Linked DNA regions of Homo sapiens: all the other regions are linked to region 1. Evidence: promoter capture Hi-C in 16 types of primary human blood cells and fetal thymus (Javierre and others, 2016). All regions are on one chromosome and are shown on one strand. The core of a region is centred on a gene start or on the middle of the fragment in contact, and the rest is flanking DNA. Distances in the headings are between cores, read along the strand shown.

What was found. Contacts are between HindIII fragments. The CHiCAGO score rates a contact against its expected background, and 5 or more counts as called.
Region 2: a fragment that was not itself captured here is called in contact with the fragment with the promoter of ATXN7L1 in region 1 in 3 of 17 cell types (naive CD8 T cells, non-activated CD4 T cells and naive CD4 T cells); the score reaches 6.4 in naive CD8 T cells.
Region 3: a fragment that was not itself captured here is called in contact with the fragment with the promoter of ATXN7L1 in region 1 in 1 of 17 cell types (non-activated CD4 T cells); the score reaches 6.5 in non-activated CD4 T cells.

Annotation. Positions count from the first base shown.
Region 1 is chr7:105,874,398-105,879,328 of GRCh38, reverse strand. ATXN7L1 (ataxin 7 like 1) reads left to right here and starts at 2,730. Exons shown (of 12, transcript NM_020725.2): 1 at 2,730-2,951; 2 at 3,449-3,517. The coding sequence starts at 2,771. RefSeq lists a silencer at 2,478-2,687. The HindIII fragment of the contact is 13,815 bases long and covers 1-4,931 here.
Region 2 is chr7:105,643,689-105,648,619 of GRCh38, reverse strand. All of the region lies in intron 4 of ATXN7L1 (ataxin 7 like 1), which reads left to right. Among named protein-coding and RNA genes, the nearest start is that of EFCAB10, 65 kb to the right of the region's middle. RefSeq lists an enhancer at 1-438 and a silencer at 449-665. The HindIII fragment of the contact is 4,314 bases long and covers 322-4,635 here.
Region 3 is chr7:105,739,757-105,744,687 of GRCh38, reverse strand. The region is part of intron 3 of ATXN7L1 (ataxin 7 like 1); the gene reads left to right. Among named protein-coding and RNA genes, the nearest start is that of ATXN7L1, 130 kb to the left of the region's middle. The HindIII fragment of the contact is 842 bases long and covers 2,429-3,270 here.

The DNA.
Region 1 (4,931 bases), core at 1,481-3,980:
TGGGCTTCCCTTAGAGCAAGACAGGGCATGCAAGAGAGAGTGAGAGCAACAGAAGTGACAGCAGTTTTGTACCCTAACCTCAGAAATGACATCCCACCACTTTTGCTATATTCTCTTTGTTATCAGCAAGTGACTAAGTCTAGCCCACACTAAAGAAAAGAGGATTACACAAGGGCATGAACACCAGGAGGTACAGACCTTTGGGGCCACATTAGCTGCTGCCTACACCTTCCTTGCATGCACAACAACACAGGAATAAACATCAAAATAGATAATAAATAGAGGGAAAATAGGGAAGCAGAAGGGAAAGGGAAAGTGTTCCAGCATCTAATTACTCATGCCTCAGAGCTCTCGCATTCTCTCTCCCCACCTCTAAATCTAGCCCAACAGCACACCCTCTGATCAGGTGCTCTCTTCACAGTCTCACACCTGTCTCCTCTTCTCTACCTGCATAGCACCACCAAAGTTCAGGCTTTCATCTCTTCACACCATGAATATTGCAGCACTACTTTTCTAACCAGGCTCCGTACTCCAATCTTTCTAACTCACACTTTTAACTTATCTTTATGGTACAGAAAGCCCTTCAGTAGCTCCCCATTGTCAAACAAAATCCAGACTCTTTAGGCTGCCGTTTGGTGCCTTCCATAATTTGATCCAGGCCTGGGTATCAAAATGCATCACCCCCAAGCCCCCAGTAACAATTCTCCATCCCAGGCAAACCATGCTCAACACCCAAACACACCATGTTTATACTCAGCTTGAAGCCTCTGCTAATACCATTATTCCCCCTCCCTCCGCAAGACCAGTCTTCACCTTACCATTACAAATCTTTGGCAATTTCCAAGATGCAGAGCAGAGCCCATCTTCTGTTACGCAGTTTCTGTTCACTCCTAACTAGATTTCGGTTCCTCTATGAACTGGCACAGCTGAGAGACCACCCCACCCACTGCACAGGCCAGTCCCTGTGTACCTGCCTGTTTTCCCAAGGAATCGGTAAGTTTCACAACTTCCTTCTTCCAGAGACCACCAGACTGCATCTCTGTGAGGGTGAGGATGGGTCTCACTCATCTTTCCCTCCTGACAGGAGGGCACAGCTGTTCCATGACAGGCAATATTGGTTGACTTAAGATGGACAGATGGAAGGAAGGAAGGAAGGAAGGAAATGTCAAGCCCAGGGTCTAGCATATAACAAGAGGTCAACAAGTAATACATATTTGTTAACACCACCAATTCTTACAATGGGAATTCTTCACCCAGCGACACCTTAGCTATGTAGGAGCCCTTCGAAAGAGAGCAAAGGCAAATGCAGTTTATCTGAGTCTGACACAAACAAGCCGACTCACACAAACATCACAACTAAAGGCAAATCCGCAGCTCCTCCTTCATCGCCCATCCTAACACTGGCTTAGCGATACAGGGTGCCAAGCTCAGGGAAATTATTAGATGGTTCAGCCAGGGCAGAACTCAGTCAGTACAAAGCAACTTCCAATCAGTGCGCTTCAGCTGTGACAACTTGGGAAACAGCAGTGGTGAGAGCTAAAAGGGTGCTGGCGAAAGAGAAAAAAAAATATGTCGCTTGTGGGGTGAGGGCGGTGTCCATATAGTTTAGATAATTCTAGTAAACAAAAGGATTTGTTAAAAAGAAGTAACAGAAGACTTTTTAAAGCCTTCTTTAAAGGGTGAAAATCTCAACTAAAGCACCCAACGTCCAAAATCCAGAGGAAATCTAGCGCTCCCTTTCTAGCTGGCTAGAGCAGTTAAGCCTGAAGTGAATTCTCCCAGGAATCAGATTCCTGGCCAAAGGTTGCCTGCGCAAACCCGGGCCACCCTCGTCTCACGGCAGGGAGCGCTGGAAACGGCTCAGGGGCTAGGCCCGTTAGCGTCGTCTTCCAAGAGCCGTAAATTCGCCCTCCCGCTCTGCTGACCCTGGAGCAAAGTCCATGCAGTGGTTCTCTGAGAGCCGGAGATACGCACCGCGCGGGGAACCCGGGGGTCCGGGGGCCCTAACTTTTGAGTTTTGCACGCCCCGCAGCCTGAGATGGGAAGGTAGCTCGTAGCGCTCCAAACTCACCTGCGTTTCAGAACGACATCTACCCACTGGTTTCAGCTCCTAGAGCAACAACTGCAGAATCTCCATGGTCCAAAGTCCTCCAGGAAAGAGAAGAAAGGGGTGACGGGGGTGAGGGCTGGGAGGCGAGGTCACCAGGGTCCCTTCCCTGGCTCGGGTGGGGGTGGGGGGCGCAACCCCTCACGGCTCCTCCCCACCAAGCCGTCGGGACCCCAGCGGGGGCGCCTCGCGTTGGGCGACAGGGACGCGGGGAGAGAGCGACAAGCTGGAAGCAAGGGCTGCCTGCAAAACTTTCGGTCCTCCAGCGGCAACTCTGCGGGAAAGACCACCCTTCCTTCGGCCCCGCGTCGGGCCTATCCCCGTGTGCCCCGACCCCTGCGCCCCAGGCTTGGGCGGCGCCGCTGCATCCCGGCTGCCGGGCGCGCTGCAGCCTTCGCTCTCCCGCACGCGGCGCTCGCCCGTCCGCGCTGCCCCTCCCCGGCAGGCGGGCGGCCCCGGCGGGCGGGCGGGCGCGGACTGCAGGTGCCTCTCTGCTGCCCCTGGCGGCCGCGGGCGCGCGAGCCCCACCGAGCCGGCTCCGGGAGCCCGAGCGCCCGCCCCTCCTCCGCTCCCTCTCCCCTCCTCCTCCGCCGCCCTCCTCCCATCCCGCCCTTCCTCCCTCCCTCCCCCTTTCAGAACACTCAATGTCGGAACGTTCCGAAGATGACGTCGGAGCGTTCTCGAATCCCGTGTCTCTCGGCTGCTGCTGCCGAAGGAACAGGGAAAAAGCAACAAGAAGGAAGAGCAATGGCGACACTGGATCGCAAAGTGCCCAGTCCGGAGGCGTTTCTGGGCAAACCCTGGTCCTCCTGGATCGACGCCGCCAAATTACACTGCTCCGACAGTAAGAACCCCACCACCTCCTCCTCCTTTTATTATCCTGTAACCTTTCCATTCACCTAGAGCCACTGGGAAAAAGTGTGTGTGTGAGAGAGAGAGTGGCCCCCGGTGTCCTCCATGCTTCTCCCTCTCTCTCTAAATAAATACACACAGAGACAGATCATCAATGCACAGGGAGAGGCCCGGCTGCCAGGGCTGTCTGTCTGTCTGTGCCCGGCTCCCCGTGGCAGCCCGCGGGGTGGGCTCGCAGCCCCACGGTGTTGTCCGTTTAAAAGGCTACTTTGTTGCTGCTTGCATAGTTTTTTGGGTACCTATCTGGGCCAGGTAGATGGAAACCCAGACTTGGGAGAAAATGTTGCATTGTCAATTTTTGAAAGAATTTCATATACAGTATTTATATCGATCTGTTTGCAAATAAACACTCTCCCTCCCCCCTTGACTTTGGCTTTTTTCCCCCCTTTTTTCCTTATTTTCTGTTTTCCTTTTCTTTTTCATCTGCAGATGTAGATTTAGAAGAGGCTGGAAAAGAGGGTGGAAAAAGCAGGGAGGTTATGAGGCTTAATAAAGAAGGTAAGTGGAGCTACTGGCATTTTAGTGTTAGCATGTGTGGCAGAATCTTCACAGGATTTCGAATATAATGTGAATTGTTCTGCTGGGTACAGAGTGACTAAGGCTTGTCAAAAATTGAGCACGCCCAGGTGACTACTGCTTCATGTTAACTTCTTTCAAAGTATAAATACAACTGGGGGGGGGGTAAAGGGGGGTGAGACTGTTGAAGGCAGAAGTTTACTGCACTTCAGTTGGACTCCACGTTTGAACCTTCTGATGCATATCTGCCATTCTCCTTGGGAGCATCATTGCCAAATGGTGGGGCGTTAAAATTTCTGAAATGAAGAGTGGAGTTCCCTTCACAAGCATCCCAGCCTTTCTCGTGGGTGAATGCACAACAGCTTAATGAACCCCACATGGTCAGTCATTCCAGCAGCTACTTCTCCACTCACCACTGAAAACCATTGTACATGGCAAACCTTTGCAGCAAGTTACATTTGGCCCACTTTGCATTTGGTCACAGATTGTTATGTGGCAAGCAGGGTTAGGAGCATCTGTATGTGCAGCCCCTCAGCAGTCATCATCTCTCTTTTCCCAGCATGGAAATACGGTACCTGAAATGGGACACACTGAGTAGATAGGTCATCCCAGACCAAGATATGCAAGAGAAGCCACAACCTGCTGCAATTGGGCATCAAACACATATGGTCGTCATAAATAAATCATATCCTGTTCTCATTTGCAAGCCTGCCGTATGTAACTCTGGCCTATGGGCTTCAAATGGAGCAACTCCGGGGGCCACTTGCTGCTAAGCAAATAGGTGGATTCATTTGAATTGTGATTCACTAACTGATGTCTTATAAACATAATTGGCTGAAATTGGGGGTGGGAAGATGGCACAAGGGGACAGAAGAGGTTGGTGGTATTGAAAGAGTTCAGACATAAGTAGGCCATAGGTGCATTGGTCATCCCAAATGAATGGAGAAAAGGCCATTAGATGCCAAAGAATGGTCCCCCTCATAAAAAGGGATGTCACCCTGGAAGGCAGCTGAAGCCTGCGTGGAAAGATGGAACTCATTTTATGAATCAACACTTCAGATGGTTGGTTTTCTGTGCCCAATCATTTCCTGACCATCCACTGAGAGGAAATTTTGTGCTTCAGAAAAAATAACATGAAGGTTAAAATGCGTACATATTCAAGGACAGTTCCCTAGCATAATGTTTCTGCTAATTAAGCACTTTGGGAACAAAACATTATTCTAAAGATGTTTGCTTCTAAATATCTTAGTGTGATCTTGACAGGTGTCTTCAGGATGCACGAGGGATTGATGTCAAGTGGACTTCTTACAAGTGGCAGCTTATTTGTGTTAAATGTTCATGTGTGTTGGCAGTGGGAAGCATCACTAGAGATTATTTTTCTTCACACACAAACTCT
Region 2 (4,931 bases), core at 1,229-3,728, 230 kb after region 1:
TGTGTATGGGAGGTGGGGGGTGGGGCTCTTAATAGGCTCTTATGTCAGCTGAATGTTTTTGCTCAAAAAGCATCATCTCTGGGATTGGCTTTCCAGATTCTGTGGCACTATCCTGTGACCGTTTCCTCCTTTGCTTTCTCAGTTCAGGACTTTGGGGCTGTTGCCAGCTGTAGTAAAGAAAGGCTGGCCCGATGGCTAGCGTGTATACTGGGGAAGAGGATGGCAAGGTCAAATGCCTTTCCCACCATCACTCAGCTGCCTGCTTCTGTGTCTTCTCAGTCCAGGCCAAGGCAGGTTCCCTTAGAGAGAAAGCCCAAAGCTTTTGAGGGAGAGAAGGGACACCAAAGAAAAAAGTATCAGGGACAGCTCTAGGTTCTTCTCCTTCACTCTTCTAAGCCCTTCTCCATTAGCTAATGAACACCCTTAGAACACACCCAAAAGAGCGCAGTCTCCCTTCTCTCCTTCTGCCAAGTCCTTTTACCTCACATCAGAGGTGTTCACTCAGTGGCCCAGCCCCTTACCAACTCACCTGGTCTTTGAAATCTTTGAAACATTCTTGATCAGACTTTTTTCCCCAATGCTTCCCATTCTTCAATCCAGAGGACTGCACGTGAGGCTGTCTTTCCTGTTTCTGATGGGCTCCAATTTCGCATCCAGCTGAGTTCTGGAATCATTGACAGTAGAGTATGATTGGGCCACACTCATTATAAAGCAGAAAAAATTCCAAATTAGGAGACAGTCACAGACATTAGCTGGCCTGGCCCAAGCTCAGTTACACACAGTTGGGAAGAAGTGTCACCAAAGAGATGAGTCAACTGGCACGGTTCCAAATGTTGGGACCTGGTGCACCTGTGCTCGTGGGGCTGCCTTAAGGAGCACATTCAGAGCCTGACGTTGACTTTAGAGGAGTAATGCAGACTGTGCTATGAGCATTTGAGGGCTGCTTGGCTTGTTTTTGCTGTTTGTTTGTTTTTGAGACGGAGTCTCGCTCTGTTGCCAAGCTGGAGTGCAATGGCGCCATCTCAGCTCACTGCAACCTCCGTCTCCCAGGTATAAGCGATTCTCCTGCCTCAGCCTCCCAAATAGCTGGGATTACAGGCATGTGCCACCGCGCCCGGCTAATTTTGTATTTTTAGTAGAGACGGGGTATCACCATGTTGGTCAGGCTGGTCTTGAACTCCTGACCTCAGGTGATCCACTCGCCTCAGCCTCCCAAAGTGCTGGGATTACTGGCGTGAGTCACCGTACCCAGCCGGTTTTTTAAATGTATTTCCATTTGTACAATTGCTCTGGATTATTCTATCCCAGGCATCATATCTTTGTCTGCTGAAGGCCTGAGGACCTAACATCTACATAGGGCATTTTTCACAGAAACTAGAGGCGTTATGTTAACTCGTACCAGCTCATGCAACAAGAACTAGATCTGGAACTTGCAAGTTCTAATTTCCTTTCCTGAACTAACTTGGCTTCACAAAGAAATATTAATACATCAGAGAAGGCTGCCCAGGTACTAGAGCACCTTCTCTTCTTGCTAGCTGTCCATGTGTTCATATCAACACTTGAAGTTTGATTTTTTTCCCTAAAGAAATAAAAGTCAACAGATCAGAACAAGGGTGAGAAATTAAATCAATAAATCTTTTTGAACAGAACAGATTCTTCTAATTTTTTTTTTTTCCAAGACAGGGTCTCACTGTGTCACCCAAGCTGGAGTACAGTGGCACAATCCTAGCTCTCTGCAGCCCCAAACTCCTGGGTTCAAGTGACTCTCCTACCTCAGCCTCTCATGTAGCTGGTACTGTGTGTGTCCACCAACGTGCCCAGCTTATTTATAATTTTTTTTTTTTTTTTTGTAGAGACATGGTCTCACGGTGTTGTCCAGGCTGGTCTCAAATACCTGGCCTCGGCTGGGAGCAGTGGCTCATGCCTGTAATCCCAGCACTTTTAGAGGCTGAGGCAGGCAGATCACCTGAGGTCACGAGTTTGAGACCAGCCTGGCCAACATGGTGAAACCCCATCTCTACTAAAAGTACAAAAATTAGCCAAGTGTGGTGGCGGGTGCCTATAATCCCAGTTACTTGGGAGGCTGAGACAGGAGAATCACTTGAACCCAAGAGGCCGAGGTTGCAGTGAGCCGAGATTGTGCCACTGCACTCCAACCTGGGTGACAGAGACACTGTCTCAAAAACAAAACAAAACAAAAAAACACCTGGCCTCAAGCAATCCTCTCACCCTGGCCCCCCAAAATCCTAGGACTACAGACATGAGCCACCATACCTGGCCAATATGTTTGGGTTTGGGGGGTGCCAGTGGGGTCAGGGGGGAGTTGAGACAGGGTCTTGCTCTGTGCAATAGCATGATCCTAGCTCACTGTAACCTCAAACTCTTGAGCTCAAGCGATCCACCTGCAGCCTCCCAAGTAACTAGGACTACAGGCACATGCCACCATGCCTGGCTAATTTTTATTTCTATTTTGTAGAGAATGGTCTCGCTATGTTGCCCGGGCTGGTCTCAAACTCCTAGGCTCAAGCAATCCTCCCACCTCAGCCTCCCAAAGAGCTAGGATTATAGGCATGAGCCACCACAACTGGCCACTGACACTTTTTTTTTTTTTTTGAGACAGAGACTCGCTCTGTCGCCCGGGTGGGAGTACAGTGGCATGATCTCAGTGCACTGCAACCTCTGCCTCCTGGGTTCAAGTGATTCTCCCACCTTAGCCTCCTGAGTAGCTGGGATTACAGGCATGCACCACCACCCCTGGCTAATTTCTGTTTGTTTGTTTGTTTGTTTGTTTGTTTGTTTGTTTGTTTGTGGTGGCGTCTCACTCTGTCTCCCAGGCTGGAGTGCAGTGGCACTATCTCGGCTCACTGTAAGCTCTGCCTCCTGGGTTCACGCCATTCTCCTGCCTCAGCCTCTGGAGTAGCTGGGACTACAGGCGCCCGCTGCCACGCCTGGCTAATTTTTCTTTTTTTTTTTTTTTTTGGATTTTTAGCAGAGACAGGGTTTCACCATGTTAGCCAGGATGGTCTTGATCTCCTGACCTGGTGATCCACCTGCCTCGGCCTCCCAAAGTGCTGGGATTACAGGCGTGAGCCACCACGTGTGGCCAATTTCTGTATTTTTAGTAGAGACGGGGTTTCACCATGTTGGCCAGGCTGCTCTTGAACTCCTGACCTCAGGTGATCCACCCGCCTCAGCCTCCCAAAGTGCTGGGATTACAGGTGTGAGCCACTGAGCCCAGCCTCTGATCTGTATTTTTAAAGTCAGGTTTATTGAAGTATAATTTAGGTTGTAAGAGTTTTGTAATTTGCATTTTTTTTTAGTTTGTACATGTAAAACATTTTTAATTGTGGTAAAATAAGCATAACATAAAATTTACCATATTAACCGTTTTTAATGTACATTTCAGTAGTATTAAGTACATTCACACTGTTGTGCAACCAATCTCCAGAACTTTTTTTTCCATCTTGCAAAACTGAAACTCTATACAGTTGTTCAACGGGCATTAAAAAAAACTGCCCATTCTCCCTTCCCCATCCCCTGGCAACCACTGCTCTGCTTTCTGTCTCTATGAATTTGACTACTCCAGGTACCTCATATAAGTGGAATTATACAGTATTTGTCTTTTGTGACAGGCTTATTTCACTTAACATAATGTCTTCAAGGCTCCTGCCCGTGTCAGAATTTCCTTCCTTTTTAAAGCTGAATGATGCTACATTTTGCTTATCCATTCATCCATTGATGGACACTTGGGCTGCCTCCACCTTTGGCTATTGTGAATAACGCTGCTATGAACATGGGTGTACAGATCTCTCTTCAGGACCCTGATTTCTTAACTTGTGGCTTTTTAAATGTGTCAAGGAATAAGCCTAGAAGAATTCTGTATCACATTGCTTTGCATCTTTTTATCATTTGGGAAAAATCAGGAATGCAGCACTAATTTCACCAGGTAATACCTGTCTAGCATCTTGGTGTGCTCACTCTCAAAGGGTTTCTTGTGCCATTCTTCAGTGATATGGGAGTGCTTTGAGAATTGCCATTAAATAGAAAGGAGCAGCAGTTCAGCTCTATCTCAGACATTGAGACACTCTGATCAGGGACGGAATTGGCAGTGGCAGGGTTTGTTACAAAAAACTGTCATTCTAGTTTCCCCTCACATGGGACTTGAAGCCCCAGGTCACCCTTCCCCAGGCCAAGAAGCTACGTGGTCCAAGGGAGAAGTCGGTAATGTCCAGCCACAATCTGTTCCGCTGCTCTGTGCCCTTCTCGCTGGCAAAGATCTGTAACAAACAGCTGGGATCCTATTTCAGAGTCATAAAAGGGGCAGGGGCTGAGAGGGGGCTAAAATAATTTCATGAACAAGTTGATCAAAGAAATAATCTGTGAATGAATCTTAGAGAAAGGAGAGCCAGCCAGCCAGCCATGTGGACAGATAAGATTCTTTTCCTGCCAAAAACAGCCCCTCTTTCCTGCCCTACATTGTCTGCAGGAATGTAAAAGCCATATTCTAGATCATTTGGCATTCAAATAGCTAAGTAGGCTTCACTCTCAGCTCAGAGATGACTGGGGAGCCCATGTTAGCATTCTTCCCTCCTGCCAGGAGGAAAGGGAATCTAGCTCAGGGACCAAAGCAAAGCTTATTCATCTCATCTTTTAAGACCCAGAGATGGAGTTCTCCACAGCCCCCCAGACGCAGGTCCTTCAGCATTAAAGAAGAAGAGAAATCAAATGCACATCCCATACAGGAGAAATAGCAGGGAAGGGGGCTAAGGTGACAGATTCTGAAGAGTGAAGCACACCTTTGTGCTCTGCCTTCTTAAAATTCATCCTTTCACCTGCCAGCCTTGAGAATTGCCTATTTACATAACTAGCTGCCTAAAATGGAATATTGGATAATGCTACATGGCGGCTCACTCAATTTGAGCCCATCCCCA
Region 3 (4,931 bases), core at 1,600-4,099, 130 kb after region 1:
TGTCTCTTCAGTCTCTGTCATTCATGGCCTTCATGTTTTTAAAGATTACAAGTCTTGGATTTGGTTTACCTGGTGATTCCTTGTGATTGGATTCAGGTTTTGCATTTGTGGGTGGAAGGCTTTTTTAAGGGGGTAAGATCTAAGTCTGGCAAGTTGGGATGAGCCCAGAGGGAGATCAGGACAGTGCTGCTGACACATGGAGAACAAGCCCTTTGGGTGGGGACTGGGCAGCTCAGAAACCTGAATATTCCCCTAAAAAAAAGAATATTCCCCTGGTGTGGGCACAGAGCATGTTAAATATACTCTAAGCTCTTGGGCAAGATAAGGGACTCTCTCCCTAGCGGATTTAGTCTCCCACAACCATTTAGATAAATGGTTGTGCATGTAAAATGGATTAATAATGTCAGTGTTTGGAAAGTGCCTGCCCAGAGTAAGCCCTCAGCATGTGGTAGCCATTTTTGTAGTGTAGAAGGACACAGACCCAGGTTATTCTGAATATATCTAATAGATCATTGTTTCTGTGTGGGGATGTGTTGTCTCATTTAATCCTTTGGTGACTTGAGAGGTGATGATGTTTCTGTTTTTTAACAAATGGGAAAACTGAGGCACAAGGAGCACAGCCATTTAGAGAGAGAACTGGGCATTGAACCAGACCTCAGCCATCAAGCTCATGCTGCAACGTGCTGTTTCAAACCCATTAAAGGGTTTTCTCCGCAATCAGTCCTTGCTTTGCTTTGCTCAAAACAAGACTTAAATAAAGACGCCAGCTCCATTTTCCACTCATGTCAGTGATTGATACTTGATTAATGTTCAGGATTGCTGTCATCTAGAGCATAATTTTCGCAGATGCAAAGACCAATTTTGTTGTTACTGAGGCGGAAAGATCTATTTCCTCATAAGTTAGCAAGCAGATTTGGAGGGAAGCATGAACCACAGGGTGTCTTGCTGACTGATTCTGAAAGGAAGCTGTGCCGCATTTGGCATTGTTAGCATTTATGGCTGGTGGGTCAGAAGGTCCAAGAAGGCCACATGAGTGTGGCCACCTCCTAGGCTGCTGCAATGCAGCTATGTAACATTCAGCATAGTCACGGACTTCTAAAGCGATCATATCTGCTTTCTCAGTGTCGCCCTGAGTGGCACAGGGAACCTTGGAGAGCTCCCTTCCTTGACTTTCCAGAGGTGACAGTGATTGTTAGAGTCCTGTAAACTGCCTCCTTATGCAACCGAGAATTCTCCTGAAGAAGACTTGCTGCTTGTCAGAGACAGTGAGCCAGCCGGCAGCCTCCCTGGGACTCTTACTCAGGTGCAGCTGAAGGAGTACTGGGTTCCAATCCAGCTTCCTGCCACACACTGCCTAACCGCTCTCAGCTGTTGGCAATAGGAGCAATGTGCTGAGTACCTGGCCCCAGTTCTTGGCACAGATATGTAATCATTCTTGGTTTTTCTTCTTCTCCTTTATTTTCTGTCTGTTCTTTGCCTCCGTGTGGATCCCCTGTACCTCTTCCCCTCCTCTGACTCCCTCAGTAAAATCAAGAGTTATTTTATACCAAAATATAAATCAATTACAGAAGCTGGGAGGCCAGATCTGACAGCTCCCACTCATCTCTGACCAGGAGAGGAAAAGACCCTTCAAATTCTAATTTGAAAAGCAATGAGCTTGACCTTCAGAGGTTGGGCTGCCCACAAAGAATCACTTCCTGATTTTGGCTGGGGAGATAAGGACTGGAAGTTGGGGAGGGCATAAGCATGTTGAGAGGGGGAGAGGTGAATCGTGGGATGCTGGAAGATACTCGTCAAGGGAAGCTATAGGATCCCCAGCCAGTGACCTGTTTTGGAGGAGGGCCCAGGCTGTGCGTATGTGTTTGGGAAGTGGGGGTAATGGCTGGCCATCTTATGTTTAAAATTAAAATAGCTTCCCTGGAAGTATGAATATGGAAAATAAACAGTCTGCAAGCTTAGCTAAATGGTTGTGCGTGTAAAATGGATTAATAATGTCAGTGTTTGGAAAGTGCCTGCCCAGAGTAAGCCCTCAGCATGTGGTAGCCATTTTTGTAGTGTAGAAGGACACAGACTCTGGAACCAAATTGCCTGCATCCCCATCCCAGCTCCAACATTTCTAGTTGTGCAGCCTTGGGAAAGTTGCTCTACCTCTGTGTGTCTCACTCTACCTTTATGTGTCTCACTCAGTTTTCTCTTCTGTAAAATGAGCATAAGCATAGTACACACATAATAGGGTGGTTGTGAAAATTGGGTGGATTCATGTACAAAAGGCAAATGCCTCACATATGTTAAGCTTGAGGTAAGGGTTATTGCCTATTGTACTGATGAGAGAGTCCATATGAAAATTGCCACTGGTTATTGCTCCGATGCAGGCATATTTGAGAACACCAACAAAAAGGCTGGTAGTCTTGAAATTAGATCACAAGCTTTATTTCAAGGCTAGATCTCTGCAGAAGATAAAGCCAGGCATCTCAACTGCGGGTTAAGAGTCACCTGTAGGACAGAGCATGCTTACTCTTCTGAAGTTCTAGCTCTTGAAAGGAGACAGTTGGGGCTCTTTGCCTCTGTTCGTGACAATGTGTCCTTTGAACAAGGATCTGACACCACTGCATTAGTTTGCGAGGGCTACCATAACAAAGTGCCACAATCTGGATATCTTAAGTGACAGAAATGTATCTCACAGTTCTGGAGGCAGGAAGTCCAAGATCAACATGTCAGCAGGATTGGTCCCTTCTGAGGGCTGCGAGAGAGAATCTGCTCCCTGCCTCTCTCCTGGCTTCTGGTGGTTTGCTGGAAGGCTTGGGCATTCCTTGGCTTGTAGATGCCTCACCCCCATCTCAGCTTTCATCTTCACCAGGTGCTCTCGCTGTGCATGTCACTCTCTATGTCCAGAGTTCCCTCTGTAATGACACAGTCAGATTACATTAGGGCCCACCCTCATGACCTTGTCTTAATTTGGTCATTTGCAAAGACTCTATTTCCAAATAAGGTCACGTTCACAGGTGCTAGTGTTTAGGACTTCAACATCTTTTAGGGAGAGAACCCATAAAACTCACAATTCCTCCACCCATGTCTGAATTGCTGACACTGCCTTCCAGCTGGCCGATCCATCACCCCTCTCTTCCCATCCCACTCACCTTCCACACGGGCTGAAAAATCATTCTTCGACTGCATTTTCACCACGGAGGCATCGTACTGATACTTCTATGAGAAAAGAACGTCAAGCTCAAATGTGTCAAAATCAAACACTATCCTGTTGAAAGGCAAGCTTGTATAATGTTTAGGGAGAGGATATGACCTGGTTATTGGGTAAAGAAAACTAAGGCTTTATTTTGTGTGACAGACTCTCTGTTGGCCCAGTGCTCTGACAGAAGTTCAGTGGGGGAAGGAGAGAAATGGCCATTTGAGGTCATTTGAGTTGGATTTAGATGAGCCTGATACACAAGACCCTCCCTGAGCTCTGTTCTGTCCTGAGAGGAGGCCCACAGTGCCAAAGAATTCACATCTAGAGCTGAGCCTCCGCACATCCCCACTCTGCTGCAGCCCAGCCGCGTGAACTTGGACCTGCCTTTCTGGGGCTTAGGGTTCTCACTGGTCCTGAGGAAGGCTTAAGAATGGAGCAACCGCCGGGTGCGGTGGCTCACGCGTGTAATCCCAGCACTTTGGGAGGCCGAGGCGGGCAGATCACGAGGTCAGGAGATCGAGACCATCCTGGCTAACATGGTGAAAACCCATCTCTACTAAAAATACAAAAAATTAGCCAGGCGTGGTGGCGGGCGCCTGTAGTCCCAGCTACTCAGGAGGCTGAGGCAGGAGAATGGCTTGAACCCGGGAGGCGGAGCTTCCAGTGAGCCAAGATCGCACCACCGCACTCCAGCCTGGGCGACAGAGTGAGACTCCATTAAAAAAAAAAAAAAATGAATGGAGCCACCTTTGACTGAGCAGCTGCTGTGTGTATGTAACTTCCTCTCTAATCCTCACAACAAGCTGCTAAGGTGGATGTTGTTATGCCCATTTCATCCACAGGAAACTTCAGAGAAATTAAGAGACCCCAAAGCCCACATTTCTTGTGTTACGTCACCCTGCCTCTTTAACTAACTCTTGGATCAGTGGTTTTTCCATCCCAGCTACATAGTCCATTCACTTGGGAGAACTTTGGGTTAGCGGTTTAGCATCTCTGGGAGTGGATACTGGTATTTTGTGAGTGCTTTCCAAGCAATTTGATGTATTTCTAGTGTTGAGAACCACTGCTGTAAATGCTTTGTGGATCTTGCCTGTTCTGGAAGCCCCAGAGAGTGCACATTGCCTCTGTGATCGTCACTAAACTCCTCAGCCTGGAGTCTTGAGCCTTCCACTAACCTCTCTTCTCCTTTCCAGCTTTCCCAACCAGTGTCCCTTTGTTGTAGTTTCACATGTTGTGATCAGCTGCCCCTTGGGTTCCTTATGGGTTGGACAGGTCAGCATGGTGCTGTCTGGCCTCTGCTAGGTGACACAGATTCTGGCTTTCTGGCCCTGACTTTGTTCTTGATTCAGAGATTGTCTGCACCAGGTTTTACAAATTATCTCAACCCACTAGTGTATCATGAAATCAGCAGAGTGGTACATTTGAAAATAAAAGAAGGAAACAGAGTGGATCACAGTAAGGGAAAGGTGTGGAGCTATATATACAGTATATAGTCTTCATGAAAAGTACTTATATTTCTTACAGCAGGTTCCAGTGCAGTCAAAAATGTTTGAACTGTTGAATGTTTAAATGAAATGTTTGAACCTATACCAACACATATTTATCATTGCTTTTAGAACCTGGGGCAAAATTCTCCTTCTCTAAGATCATGGAATAGTAGAGGAAAAGACCTAGAGGTCATGTTGCCGACTGATCCCCAATACCAGGGCCAGGCGGCTACACAAGGATCCCTAGGGAACTTGTTGAA